Regions from separate parts of the Homo sapiens genome. Here regions 1, 2 and 3 are each linked to region 4. Evidence: promoter capture Hi-C in human tissues and cell types (Jung and others, 2019). All regions are on one chromosome and are shown on one strand. The core of a region is centred on a gene start or on the middle of the fragment in contact, and the rest is flanking DNA. Distances in the headings are between cores, read along the strand shown.

Region 1 (3,398 bases), core at 69-2,568, 580 kb before region 4:
AAGATGGGGCGTGGAACATGCCCCCGCCCCCCTCCTTGCCGCAGGCCCCCAAGGTACTGAGTTCGTCAGAAGTTAATCCGGTATTGTGGGAGACAACTTTTCCAGCCACTTGGAAAAGTGTCCCGCTGAGGGTGCAGTGATGTTCAGGAGTCGCCGGCTGGATCTTTCTGAGTGTGGCTTGATAACCAGCTGCAGCATTTTGCAAAGCACCCAGTGGACTCGGGTGTGATCTGCAGAGGCGGCTGCTGGCCAGGCCTGGAGTCTGGGGCAGAGGGAGTGCCCTCAGTGCACCTGTGAGGACCTGGGACTAAGAGTCGGTACCTGGGAGCTGTGGGACTCTGGGGCGGGACGGCCTTAGCCTCCGTGTGAGCACTGACCGAGATGAGGCACAGATGCATCTGTGTGAGGTGCCCGGCCCCTGCAGGAGTGCTGAGTATTGTAGCTATAACCTGTCATGTGGCAGAAGGAAGAATCTACTATAAGCGGCTGAGAGGATGCCCTCCCTGTGCCATGCGTCACTGGAGCCTTGGCCTGACAATCCCACAAGGAGCAAAATGTGCAAAGGGGCAGCTGTGTGAGCCTGCGGGTCCAGGGTGCCACCCGCCCCCATCTGCCCACACCACAGGACAGAGCCCTGGGTATGCTGACCAGGCCCTCGCTGGTACCAGGGGCTGGGTAGGAGGCAAGGGTCAAGCACGGTGGCTCCGTGGGCTGTGGACTCACAGACAGATGTGCTGCATGCCCACGCTTTGCTCTTAGCTCTGCCTCCGGTCTGTCCCGGCAACAGGCCTGGGGGCGTCCTGCAGTCCTCGGCATTTGTGGTTGGGGGTGAGCAGAGAACATAGACGAAATAACCAAGGGGATGGTCTGAGAGCTGCGGCCCTGCTGGCCCCTTGTCCTGGCTCGGCATGGCTGAGTGGGACAGCAGTGAGGCCAGGCCTGTCTCCTGGGGCCGGGGTGTTTTGTGAGTTTGGTTCTTGTCAGGCCGGCTGAGAGGAGATGGAGCAGACAGATGGATGCTAGGTGGGCCTGCCGCAGCTTTGTTTTAGGAAGTGCGGAGCACCAGGGCCTGACCCTGAGGCTGTGTCCCTCTAAGAGCACGGTGTCTCCTTCCCTCTAAAGGGCCAGGTGCTGTCCTCACTCACTGCCCCTCTGAAGAGAGTCCCCTGCCTGAGTCGTGGCTCTCCTGCCCTTCCCAGACCCGTGGGAGACCCTGACTACGTGGCGGTGGCCTGGGGTTGGGAGGGCCTGACCAGTGTCTGTGGGGCCAACTTCCTCGTTCCCAGCATGTGTGGAGGGTCGGGCCTCCTCACGCGCCTCATGAGGGTCCCACGGGGGTAGAGCGTCCTTTGAGTCCTCTCTATTCGAGGAGTGGGTAGAGAGGCGGGTAGGGACGGAGCTTGGAAGAGGTGACGGGTTGTGGCCAGAAGGCTGTGGGGGCGTCATGGCAGGAAGGGAAACCTTCAGAGAGGCCGCTCACCCAGGGCCGTGGGGCCATGGAGAAGCACAGGCCCTGGGTTCAGAAAGCAGGAGGCATATGAGGTCTTAGGTCTAGAAGGCACTGGTGGGTGCAGAGTGGGGAGAACTGTGGGGTGCAGGGGACAGTCACGGGAGAGGCAGCGCTGGCAGCTGCACCTGCCCAGCGTGTCTGGGGCCATGCCCCAGGATAGCCCCACCAGTCTGCTGAAGCGCCCCGGGACAGGGCTGGGCCTGTAGAGCCGGGCCCTCCAGGCGGCCAGGCAGCTGCAGGAGAGCAGGTGCGCTGTGCATGGGGGGCTCACAGCACTGGGCAGATTCCCCTGGGGAGTAGGCGCCAGGGCTGGCCGTGCCTGCTTGGGTGGGGCCCACGATGCCCAGCTGCCCTCCCCAGGGCTCCTCCAGGGCTACAGGGGGCCCCCAACCCCCGACTTCTCCCCTGGCTCCATAGAAGGAAGCAGTTGGCTCCGTCTGTCACTGAAGGCAGCCCTGCCCTGACAGATCCAGTTTCCCGAGTCCTGGAGGGTGGCCGCTGGTCACCACGTGGGCTGGGGAGGCCCCTCTGGCCGCCTGGGGACAGGTGCTAGGTTGGCCGGGTTAGATGGGGCTGTGGGGGCAGCAGGCTGGGATCCCTTCTCACAGACTCAGCTCCCTCCTGCCACAGCCGATCACAGCACTGCTCCCAGCATTATCCCGAGAATTCTGGGGCTGTGGGGTGTTGGCGGTGAGTCTGGCATGGATGTCCAGCTTTGTTCAAGCTGGCTCTGGCCTTCTCTGCCTGGGCGACGTTGTGCCCCTTCACCTCTGAGCGTCCCCTCCACTTATGGAAGATGGGGCTCATCTGACCCCCACTGACGCAGGACAGAGTCCAGGAGACGGGCTGGAGTGCCCCAGTGGGGGCCATCCAGTCAGGGACACAGGTACAGAGGCCCAGAGCTATGGAAATTCCAGGGCTGGAGACCCATGGGGAATGGGGAGCCCCTGGGAAAGGCCTCCCCTAGCTTCCTCCAGCACCCCCACCCTTGGTTCCAGTGCTCCTGTCTCCCACCCTTTAGCTGGCAGGTCTGGTTGAGCCCCTGCAGAGCTATGTAGCCCTGCCCCTCCCTGCCACTGCTCCTCCAGACTCATGCTATAGCTGGAATGGCCTTGGTAAGCTGTCCTCCCAACCCTGCCTGTTTGCTGAAAGCTGGGACTCCCCATCCCTGGACCCCAAATAAGGACTTTTTGCTCTGGGCCCAGGCCAGGCTGGAGATGCCCCCATGGTCCAGCCGCTGCCCCTTGGCTGGTTTGCCCCAGGGTGTGGCATTGGAGGCAGCACCCCTCTGTCCTCCCTCTGTGGAGTGCCTGAAGGCTAGGCTGCTGTGCTGCCCAGGCGACATGCCTGCTCCTGCCCCTCTGGGTCTCTGCTCCCCAAGAGGGCCATGGAATGGCAGGAGGGGTCAGGGAGACTGCTACTGGCATTTCTGGGTGTTTTCTTTGGTGGCAACTGGACAGATTCCCATTCCCTCCCTGTTTGTCCACAGCCCTGAAACAGCCCTGGACTCAGCATCTTTTCTGATGAATTCTGGGCTGGGCCAGCCTAAAGGGGGCTGAATTTCTGCTTTTCATTCAGGTCCTCCTGTGCCCTATGGAGAGGAAGGCAGAGTCCAGGGACCTTGGGAAGGGTTCAGGGGGCCACCCACAGCTTCAGGGCCAGAGGTGGGCCTGCCTGGGGCCACACAGCAAGGGTGAGGATAGGTAGGATTCGGGCCACCTCACCAACATTCCTTCCATGTCCAGCACAGAGCCTCTCTTGGATGGGGCATGAGTGGGACCCAGGAAGGGGGCTAGTCAGTGTTAGGGGAGCCTGGCCACTGCCCTCTCCCCGCTGGCTACTTTGGAAATCTCCATGGCATTCCAGATCGTGTGTGTGTGTGTGTGTG
Region 2 (3,391 bases), core at 114-2,613, 520 kb before region 4:
CAGGAGGCCATTCCTACCGGCCTCTCCCATCCTGGATGTGCCACAGTCACCACTGGGGTCTGAGATCAACATCTCCAGCCTGAGCCCACCCGTGGGCCCCACAGAAGCTGCAATCAGACCTTCACATTCTCCCACGGGATGGAGCCAAGAAATTCACCATGGCCCTAGCAGCAAAACCCACTTCTTTGGAGCCAGGATGAGCCTGGTGACCCTGGGAGAACACTTGCCTTGGAGACCTCTGATAGGTTCAGCACAGTTGCCACACAGCATCAACATGAAGCTTGGGGTGTGTGGTGGGATGGGAGGGGGCTCAGGGCATCTGCAGGTGTCTAACTCTGCTCAGAAACAACACAGCACCCTCTAGGACCCCTGGGACCTCCCTAGCAGACAAGAGGCCAGGGCAGCAGCCTCTGTTTCTCAGACACATCTGACACCTCCCTCCTGACACTGTGACAATCCTAGACTGGCTCTGCATCTCCCCAGGCCTTGCACAGGGTGGATGGATGGATGGATTGATGGATGGATGGATAAATGTACAGATGGATGGATGGATGGATGGATGGATGGATGGATAAATGTACGGATGGATGGATGGATGGATGGCTGGATACATGTACAGATGAATGGTGGATGGATGGTTGGGTAGGTGGATAGACACATGGGTGGATGGGTAGATGGGTGGATAAATGGGTGGATGAATGATGGATGGATGGATGAGTGGATGGGTAGAGGGTGGATGGATAGATGGAGGGCTGAGTGGATGGATGGGTGGGAGGATGGAATGGTGGATGGGTGGATGGGTGGATGGGTGGATGGATGGATGGATGGAGGGATGGGTGGATGGGTGGATGGGTGGATGGGTGCGTTGGTGGGTGGATGGGTGGATGGATGGGTGGATGGGTGGGTGGATGGGTGGGTGGATGGATGGGTGGATGGATGGGAGAATGAACTCATGCTGGTGTCTAACTCTCATCAGTTGTGCTCAGAAACAACACAGCACCCTCTGGGACCCCTGAGACCTCCCCAGGAGGCAAGGGGCCACGGTGGCAGCCTCTGTTGCCCAGAGACATGCTAGACCCTGTTCTGGGTGCTGGGAGGACAAAAAGGAGGTAAGCCCACAGGCCAAGCCCCCAGGCCAAGCCCCCAGGCCAAGCCCCCAGGAGCCCACCCCACACCCAGGCAGACATTGCAGGACCTCTAAGCAAGGTACAGAGGGCACTGGGGAGGCCAGGAGATGGTCCCTGAGGGAAGCGATGGCTGAGCTGGGTTTTAGGAGACATACACATTTCCTGGGGGACCAACCTCCCATGGGCCCACTGCTGGACAAAGCCAGACACAGCTTGGTGTGGAGAGAATTTCAAGAGCATGAGTATTGTAGGATTTGGGGTGGGTCTGGAGAGTGGCATAAATTAGACTGAGAGGGCTGTGAGGGGTGCAGAGGGCCTTGAGAATCATGCTTAGGAGGCTGGATGTGCTCAGAGGGTGGGGGACCCAAGACTGTTGTTTTGTTTTGAAATATAACAAACAGCTTTATTGAAATAGAAGTTGCATGCTGTACAATCCACCCACAATTCAGTGCACAATTCAGCGGTTCTTGGTATATTCACAGAGTTGTGCAGCCATCGCCACCATCAATTTTATAACATTTTCATCCCTCCCCAAACCCCTGTACCCATGAGCAGTCACTCCCCCTCCCCACCTCCTGGCACCTCGCAATCTACTTTCTGTTTCTCTGGATTTGCCTGTTCTGGACATTTCATAGAAATGGAATCATACAACGTGTAGCCTGTAGCCTTTGTGTCTGGCTTCTTTCACTGAACATAAAATTTCGAGCTGCATCCATGTTGTAGCATGGATCAGAAAACTTCATTCCTTTTTAAGGCTGAGTAATATTCCACCATATGTTTATCTGTGTTTTTTGTTTTTGTTTTCATTTCGCTCTTGTTGCCCAGGCTGGAGTGCAATGGCACGATCTCGGCTCACTGCAACCTCCGCCTCCCAGGTTCAAGCAATTCTTCTGCCTTAGCCTCCCAAGTAGCTAGGATTACAGGTGCCTGCCACCACACCTGGCTAGTTATCATTGGGTTTTTTTTGTGTGTATTTTTAGTAGAGATGGGGTTTTACCATGCTGGCCAGGCTGGTCTCGAACTCCTGACCTCAGGTGGTCCACCTGCTTCAGCCTCCCAAAGTGTTGGAATTACAGGTGAGAGCCACTGCATCCAGCCCCGTGTTTTGTTTTGTTGGACTTTTGGGTTGTTTCAGCATTTTGGCTGTTTTGAACAATGCCGCTATAAATATAGGTGTGTAGGGTTTTATGTAGACACAAAGGTGGGCTTTGAGCAACAGGGGGCACAATCAGATTTAAAGGGGTCATTCTTCCTGCAGGTGGGGATGGGGGTCAGATGGAGAAAAGAGCCCAGAAAGGCTTGGCCAACCCTTGGGGAAGTATCACCCACACTCTCTCCCCAGTTCCCAGCATATGCACATGCACACGTACACGTATGTGTGTACATCTGAGCAGTCTCCAAGGCCTGCTATTGTTGAGTGTCCCAGGGACAGGCAAAGCTGGCCCAGTTCTGAGCTGATGGAGGAGAAGAGTCTCTTTAGTAGCAATCCTTGCATTCTTGTATTGATATGGGGGGGTCAGCCTCAGCGCGGAACTCTTTACATCCCCGCTCTCCCAGAACCCCTATGGCCACGGGTGGGGCAGATCGCAATATGGCCACTCATGAGAGAGGAGACAGAAGCTCATGCTGGTGGGGCAGAACCAGGCTTCAGGCAGGTGGACCCAAGTCCAAGTTCAAGATATCAGTGGCCACCAGGCATGTGTGGCTTCTGAGCTCTTGAAATGAGGCTTGTCTGACTGAGGAACTGAATCTTTATCTAATTTGTTTTTTGTTTTTTGAGACAGGGCCTTGCTCTGTCTCCCAGGTGAAAGTGCAGTGGTGCAAACATTGCTTGCTGCAGCCTCGACCTCCCGGGCTCAAGCGATCCTCCCACCTCAGCCTCCTGAGTAGCTGGTACCACAGGTGTGTGCCACCATGCTTGGCTAATTAAAAAAAAAAATTGTAGAGATGGGGTCTCACTGTGTTGCCCATGCCGGTCTCAAACTCCTGGCCTCAAGCAATCCTCCTGCCTCGGCCTCCCGAAGTGCTGAGATTACAGGTGCGAGCCACTATGCCCGGCCTCTAATTTTAATTAATTTAAAAATTGATACTCAATTTCATTTTTGGCAAACTTCTAAGTTTACGGGAAACAATTTGGGTATGCAAATCTACTTTTTCAACTGTGAATTCTGTGAAACCTAAACACATATCAAATGCGTCTGATGAAAATTTAGGGTTCAAACTGAAGTCCGCTATCAGTGCAAACCACATGCTGGATTTTGAAA
Region 3 (3,372 bases), core at 340-2,839, 520 kb after region 4:
TTAGTAGAGATGGGTTTTCACCACGTTGGCTAGGCTGGCCTCAAACTCCTGACCTCAAGTGATCCACCCGCCTTGGCCTCCCAAATTAGTGGGATTACAGGCGTGAGCCATTGCGCCTTGTCAAAAATGTATTCCTAATAAAACATGTCAAACTGTCCAGATATGGTGACATTTTCAGCTTGATATGGTGATGATGGTGACCTTGATAGAACATAATATGTGTGTCATCTCATGTGTAATTCCTTATAGACCCAGCTTGGTTCTTCTTCAATATCTCCTTTTGGAGTTGTACCTAATTTGATTACCAGTTTTCATCTGATTCCACTGGGAAATGGGATGATTTTTGCTTTTGTTTCTTGGCCAGGAATCACTTAATCCTCAAAGTCTTGTGAGAAGACATGGCGAGAAGCAGAGTCAAACACACACCACGATAGCAGAGAAGGGAAGAGAGAGAGAAGAAAGAATCTTTTATGGGCCAGGAGAGGAGGCTCACACTTGTAATCCCGCACTCTGGAAGGCTGAGGTGAGCGGATCACCTGAGGTCAGGAGTTTGAGACCAGCCTGGCTAACATGGTGAAACCCTGTCTCCACTAAAAATACAAATAATTAGCCAGGCATGGTGGCTCGCATCTGTGGCCCCAGCTACTTGGGAGGCTTAGCCACGAGAACTGCTTGAACTCAGGAGGTGGAGGTTGCAGAAAGCTGAGATGGTACCACTGTACTCCAGCCTGTGTGACAGAGTGAGATTCTGTCTCAAAAGAAAAAAAAAAAAAGAAAAAAAAAACAATTCTGTATGCACACATGTGTGAGTGTAGGGTTGTGTGTGTGTGTGTGTGTGTGTGTAGAGTGTAGGTGTGTAGGGAAGATGCATAGCAAAGAAAGAATGCACACATTATGGCCTTAGATATGGCCAAATTCCTGTCTAGAGAGGGTGTGCAGTCCTGTCCTCCCACTCCCAGAAGTGTAGATTTGTTCCCACAGCCTTGCCAGCAAGGTGGGTTGTCAAATTTGGGGAATTTTGGCCGGGTGCGGTGGCTCTCACCTGTAATCCCAGCACTTTGGGAGGCTGAGGCAGGCAGATCACGAGGTCAGGAGATCGAGACCATCCTGGCTAACATGGTGAAACCCTGTCTCTATTAAAAACACAAAAAATTGGCCAGGTGTGGTGGCGGGCACCTGTAGTCCCAGCTACTGGGGAGGCTGAGGCAGGAGGATGGCGTGAACCCGGGAGGCAGAGCTTGCAGTGAGCCAAGATTGCACCACTGCACTCCAGCCTGGGCGACAGAGCGAGACTCCGTCTCAAAAAAAAAAAAAAAAAATGAGAGGTATTTTGCCAATCTGATAGGACAGGAGGAAGGGCATCCCAGGGTAGTTTTAATTTGTGTTTCCTTTATGTTGAGTGAGGCTGTCTTTTCATACTTCTTAGGGTCACTTACATTTTTCTGAAAACTTTCCATTTATGCCTTTTTTCTGTTGTTTTTTTTTTTTGTCAAATAATTGACTTTTCACAATTAAGACTGTGATATAATAGTTCTGTGTATATTAGAGAGGCCGTTTGTGATATAAGTTGCAAAAGTTTTCTCTCCGTCTATCATTTATCTTCTGACTTTGCTCTGCTTGCTTTCTTCTTACCATGGAAAAGGTTTTTGTTTTGTTTTGTTTTGCTTTGGTTTTTTGAGGTCGCCTAACTTATCGGTCTTCTATTGTTTCTGACTGTTCAGCCATTTTTAGAAAGGTTTTCTTCACTCCTGATTACACAGAATTCACTCATGTTTTCTTCTTGCACTCGTATGATTTCACTTTTGACACTTAAAGTTTATTCTGGTGTAGGGTGTGGAGAGGGATCTAACTTTATCTTTTTCCAAATGGTCACTGCATATGCTTCAGGGGAGGCGCAGCTAAAATAAAACCTCTAGCTGTGAATGCTGCTGCTTGGGGGACTGAGAAATGGTCTCACGGTGACCATGAAACTCTTTAACATCCAACACGCTGCGGAGTGTGGCCCGGCACAATTTATTGCTGGGGGTGTGTAGAGGCGTGATCAGGGATTTGAGAGAGGAGGTGGCCTACCCAAGAAGACAAAACACCCAGAATTTTAAATTTTAATTGAGCCAGGCTCGGTGGCTCATGCTTGTAACCCTAATGTTTTGGGAGACTGAGGTGGGAGGATCTCTTGAGACCAGGACTTCGAAACCAGCCTGGGAAACATAGTTAGGCCCAATCTCTAAAAAAATAAAAATAAAAAAAGTATCCGGGTGTAGTGGTACATGCCCATATTCCCAGCTCTTTGGGAGGCTGAGTTGGGAGGACCACTTGAGCCCAGGAGCTCGAGGCTGTAGTGAGCTATGATCGCACCACTGTACTCCAAGCAGGGACAAAGCGAGATCCTGTCTCAATAAATACATAAATAAATAAAATTGGCAGGCATCAATGTCAAGATGAAGCCTTTGACAACATTCCACAGACAGCTCTTTCCTTCTTTCCTGAACTCACAAACTTCCAGGGGTTCTGCGTTGCCTACAGATATAGCCCAGGCTGCTTATTTAGCCCAGGGTCCTTCATACATGACTTTTCTTGCCTCCTATTCCCTACACCTGACCATTTATAAAGCAAGCAAGCCTTCTGTGGTCTTGCTTCCCTGCTTCTGCTCAAGCTGGGTCCTACTGTCGTAAAGCCCATCTGCTCCATCACCATTGATCAAATTCTTGATGAAACCAGAAGCAAAGTTCAAGTCTCACCCTCACCAGTAAGTTGCCCTCATCACTCTAATTTTGACGTCTTTCTCCTGCAGCACTTTGTAGGGTGGTTCTGGGCTGGACCTGGCCTTGAGCAGAGTAGGATCAGTCTTTCCCATGTCATCTGCTGGGTCCATGCTCCTTGCCAGCAGGTATAGGGGACTGAATTATCTCCTCATCCCAATTCATGTCTACCTGGAACCGCAGAACGTGACTTTATTTGGAAAGGGAGTCTTTGAAGATGAAGTTCGGTTCAGCTGAATTCACACTGGGTTGAGGTGGGCTTTAAATACAATGCCTGGGGTCTCATAAGAAGAGGAGCAAACACAGAGGGACACAGAGGAGAAGCCTGCATGAAGATGGAGGCAGAGACTGGGCTGACGCAGCCACAGCCAAGGAACACCAAGCATGGCCAGTGACCACCAGAAGCTTAGAAAGAGCCAGGGAACAGCTGCTCCCTCGGAACCTTCAGAGGGAACCAACCCTGCTGACTGACACCTTGGGTTTGGGACTTTTGGCCTCGAGAATTGTGAGAGAATAATCTTCTGTTGTTTTAAGCCACCCAGTTTGCAGTAACTTGTTATGGCAGCCCTGGGAAATGAATATAGCAGGCATCAACAGTAACAATATTTACTCA
Region 4 (3,716 bases), core at 577-3,076:
TTGTATTTTATTTTTTCAAGAAGGCTCTCCCTCTGTCACCCAGGCTGGAGTGCTGTGGTGTGATCACAGCTCACCGCAGCCTCAAACTCCTGGGCTCAAGCAATCTTCCCACCTCTGCCTTCCGAGTAGCTGGGGCCACAGGCACTTGCCATCACACCTGGACAACTTTTTTAGCTTTTTGTAGAGACAGGGTCACTTTGTTGCCCAGGCTGGTGTCAGACTCCTGGCATCAAGCAATTCTCCTACCTTGGCCTCCTAAATGCTGGGATTACAGGCACACACCACTGCACCTGGCCTAAAGTTGATTTTAAAAGAAAAAAAATACATTTTAAAAAAAGAGAAGGCCGGGTGCGGTGACTCACGCCTGTAATCCCAGCACTTTGTGAGGCTGAAGCGGAAGGATCACAAGGTCAGGAGTTCAAGACCAAGCTGGCCAACATGGTGAAACCCCGTCTCCACTAAAAATACAAAAATTAGCCGGGCGTGGTGGCACATGCCTGTAATCCCAGCTACTTGGGAGGCTGAGGCAGGAGAATCGCTTGAACTCGGGAGGTGGAAGTTGCAGTAAGCTGAGATCGTGCCACTGCACTCCAGCCTGGCCAACAGAGCGAGACTCCGTCTCAAAAAAAAAAAAAAAAATACACATATAGATATGTAAAAATACATACACATATATATGTATATACGTATATATATGGCCACGAGGACTGTGCAGCCTGATCACCATACCAGGGTGTGCCTGAGTCCAAAGCCTATGATCTTGATGGCAAGAAAACGGTGACGTAAAGGGGCTGCACAGTTTAATGGGGGCCCCAATAGCAAATATGCAAAATAGGCACATGAGGAAAAGACTGGAAGAGGCTAAAACGCCATCAAGGTCAGGCTGACGGGAGATGGATGTGATTTTATTGTTCTATTATGGTTGTATTTCAATCATAATAAAAGGGAATTCTAACTTTTAAAAATGCTTTACCATGTTAATAGCTAAAATGGGAAATGACCCAAATACTCAGCAACAAAGGCTCCGTTTAAAAGCGTGTGTGGCACGTCCATCCAACAGAGCAGGGCGTGATTCCGTCCTCTTCCCGAAAAGGCCCAAAGGGAGAGGTGGAACTGCTGTGGGATTTTTTGAGGACGGTCTTCCCGGGAATTTTCCATTTCTGCTTTTCTTATTTTTCAATGTTATCTTACTACCTGGGTTACGTGTCACGAGCTCAGGTTATTTCTACCACCAGAGCCTGGGGTGGAGGATACAGACCTCGCCCACTGGAGCTGCCCACAGCGCCTCGCCGGCCCCTCCTGCCTCCTTCGTCCCGCACATCCGCTGCTGCCCTGACACACCCCGATTCCCTGGTGCCAGGGAGAGCCAGGGCAGAGGTGGCCCTGAGACGCCACGCGACGGGGAGGGCTAGAGCGTAAGGAGGAGCGAGGTGCGCATTCGCTGTGACCCTGGCGCTCGGCTTCGCCTCTCTGGGCCTCGGTTTCCACCCCGCGGGAGCGAGTACGACAGGGGCTGCGCGCATTGCCGCAGTCACGCCTGCAAGAGCCGGGCCGGGTGAGCCGCTTCCGGCGCTCCGCGGGGGCCCCGGACGATCCAGCAGGGGCTCCGCCCTGGGACCCCCATCCTGTCTTGGGGCGTGACCTTCGGGGGCGCACGCGGTGCCGGCCGCGCCCGGGGAAGCCGGGTCCGCATCCGAGCATCAGGACAGCCTGCGGCCGCCCCATTGGCCGGCGTGTCTCTGCAGGGCCGTCCCACAGCCAATAGCGGCCAAGGGGCGGAGCCTGGCCGGTGCCCTCGGAGCTGCTGGCCCCGGGCGGCTGCTCCAGTCTGAGCGCCCTCCGCTCGCCCCGAGAGAGACCCGGCCATGCAGGAGCCGCTGCTGGGAGCCGAGGGCCCGGACTACGACACCTTCCCCGAGAAGCCGCCCCCGTCGCCAGGGGACAGGGCGCGGGTCGGGTGAGAGTCGCTAGGTTGGGGGCTGCGGGTGGGGCCTGGGGGTGGCCCTGGTTCCCTCCAGCCGGCGGCAGGCTCCCGCCCTGGGCCTCCCCTGACCTAGTCGCCACCGAGGGGCCATCTGGCTCCCTCCTGTCCCAGACACGCTACTCCTATTTAAGGAACTGGTCCCCCTAAGGGAAGGAACGATCCACGAGAGTACCGGGCCCAGCCCCCCACTGCCACAGACAGTGAGACTGAGGCCCCAGCGAGCAGGGGTTCTGCCTGAGGTCACACAGCAAGCCTCCAGCCGCCGCCCTGGGGGCAGAACCAGAGCCTCCTCTTCCGGAGAAAAGGCCCCAGCACCAGAGGCTCAGCCACTGCGGATGAGCTAACAATGGCCTGGGAATTTCCCAGGGGAGCTGGGGCTCAGGCCCTGGGAACGTGAATGGCCTTGGACCCAGGCCTCCCTAGCACTGCCCGCTGAGCCGGGCAGCCACTGGGTTCAGAAAAGGCAATGGTCCCTGGAGGAGGGACTCAGAGACCCTGGTCTTTTTGTCCGCCACCATCACCAGGACCCTGCAGAACAAAAGGGTGTTCCTGGCCACCTTCGCCGCAGTGCTCGGCAATTTCAGCTTTGGGTATGCCCTGGTCTACACATCCCCTGTCATCCCAGCCCTGGAGCGCTCCTTGGATCCTGACCTGCATCTGACCAAATCCCAGGCATCCTGGTTTGGGGTAAGGACCATCCTCTGGAGGAGGGTGGGTGCAGGAAGGAGGGACCTGCTGAGCCTTATCTCCAGCTAGGAACCTCCCAAATTCTCCACCTTGGGGGTCCCTCCAGGGCCCTGGTCCCCCCTCCCCCAGCCATCCAGGCCACTAGTGGGTGGGGTAAAGCTACAGGATTCCTCTGAAATGAGGAACTGAAAGCCAGTGGAGAGGGTGAGGGAAGGAGCAGGTGGGGAGGTGGCTGTCAGGGTCTATACTAGGTGGGGCTGAGGCTTCCCCGGGTCCCCACACCCACAGTTGGCTGGATGGGGGCAAGGGTATCAGGTGTCAGTGGGGAGAGGCACTGGCTGGGGCAAGGAGAGTCCGCAGGACAGATTGTGGGCTGATGGAGAGGAAGATCCCAGAGTCCCAGAGTCTAAAATTATAATCTTAATAGCCTCATATGTAGAGTTGTTAACATAGTAGTTAAGATAAAAATTCCCAAGGTTTACTGAGCACTTCCTATGTGCCAGGCATGTGTTGGGCACTGAACGTTCATTGATTCTCAGGGCCAACGCCACGAGGTAGAACTTGCGCTCTCCCCATAAGACAGCTGAAGAAACTGAGGTGCAGACAGGCTGGGCAATGTGCCCAGGTCCCACTACCAGTTAGCAGAGTCCAGAGGGGGTCCCAGTTGCTGCTGTACAGGGAACTTAAGAACCTCCAAATCTTAAAGCCCAGTACCTTCAAGTCACAGAATTCTCCTGTATTAAAATATTAGACATTTAAACATCAGGCTGGACAGAACCACTGTGGATATGTGGCGCAGCACCTCTTCCTTAGAGCAGAATTCCCCGTTTGGGCATCCCTAACAAATGGCTGTTCCTTGAAGACAGGAGGCTCCCTGTTTCAAGTGCTTGACTTGGCCAAGTGCTTGACCAGCTCCTGGGGTCGGCCTAGGGAAGAAGCTGTCCCTGGACTCTGATGAGATTGGGGTGCCAAGTGCCCAGACATATCTGCCCTGCACCCCCTTCCCCTGCAGTCCGTGTTCACCCTGGGAGCAGCGGCCGGAGGC

What was found. The method cuts DNA at HindIII sites, captures the fragments that hold promoters and counts their contacts. A contact is called where the count stands out against the background at its distance.
Region 1: a fragment that was not itself captured here is called in contact with the fragment with the promoter of SLC2A6 in region 4 in 2 of the 25 tissues and cell types used here (dorsolateral prefrontal cortex and spleen).
Region 2: a fragment that was not itself captured here is called in contact with the fragment with the promoter of SLC2A6 in region 4 in 1 of the 25 tissues and cell types used here (dorsolateral prefrontal cortex).
Region 3: a contact is called between a fragment that was not itself captured here and the fragment with the promoter of SLC2A6 in region 4, in 1 of the 25 tissues and cell types used here (spleen).

What each region holds. Positions count from the first base shown.
Region 1 is chr9:134,060,603-134,064,000 of GRCh38, reverse strand. All of the region lies in intron 1 of BRD3 (bromodomain containing 3), which reads left to right. Among named protein-coding and RNA genes, the nearest start is that of BRD3, 5.7 kb to the left of the region's middle. RefSeq lists an enhancer at 501-1,412. The HindIII fragment of the contact is 7,576 bases long and covers 1-3,398 here.
Region 2 is chr9:134,000,722-134,004,112 of GRCh38, reverse strand. No RefSeq gene overlaps it. Among named protein-coding and RNA genes, the nearest start is that of VAV2, 10 kb to the right of the region's middle. The HindIII fragment of the contact is 4,029 bases long and covers 1-3,377 here.
Region 3 is chr9:132,959,539-132,962,910 of GRCh38, reverse strand. It overlaps a transcript of GFI1B not described here and the pseudogene RPL39P24. Among named protein-coding and RNA genes, the nearest start is that of MIR548AW, 16 kb to the right of the region's middle. The HindIII fragment of the contact is 7,856 bases long and covers 1-3,372 here.
Region 4 is chr9:133,477,209-133,480,924 of GRCh38, reverse strand. It overlaps SLC2A6 (solute carrier family 2 member 6), which reads left to right and starts at 1,826. Exons shown (of 10, transcript NM_017585.4): 1 at 1,826-1,957; 2 at 2,509-2,671; 3 at 3,684-3,716. The coding sequence starts at 1,866. RefSeq lists enhancers at 1,315-1,816, 2,237-2,296 and a silencer at 1,427-2,076. The HindIII fragment of the contact is 12,347 bases long and covers 1-3,716 here.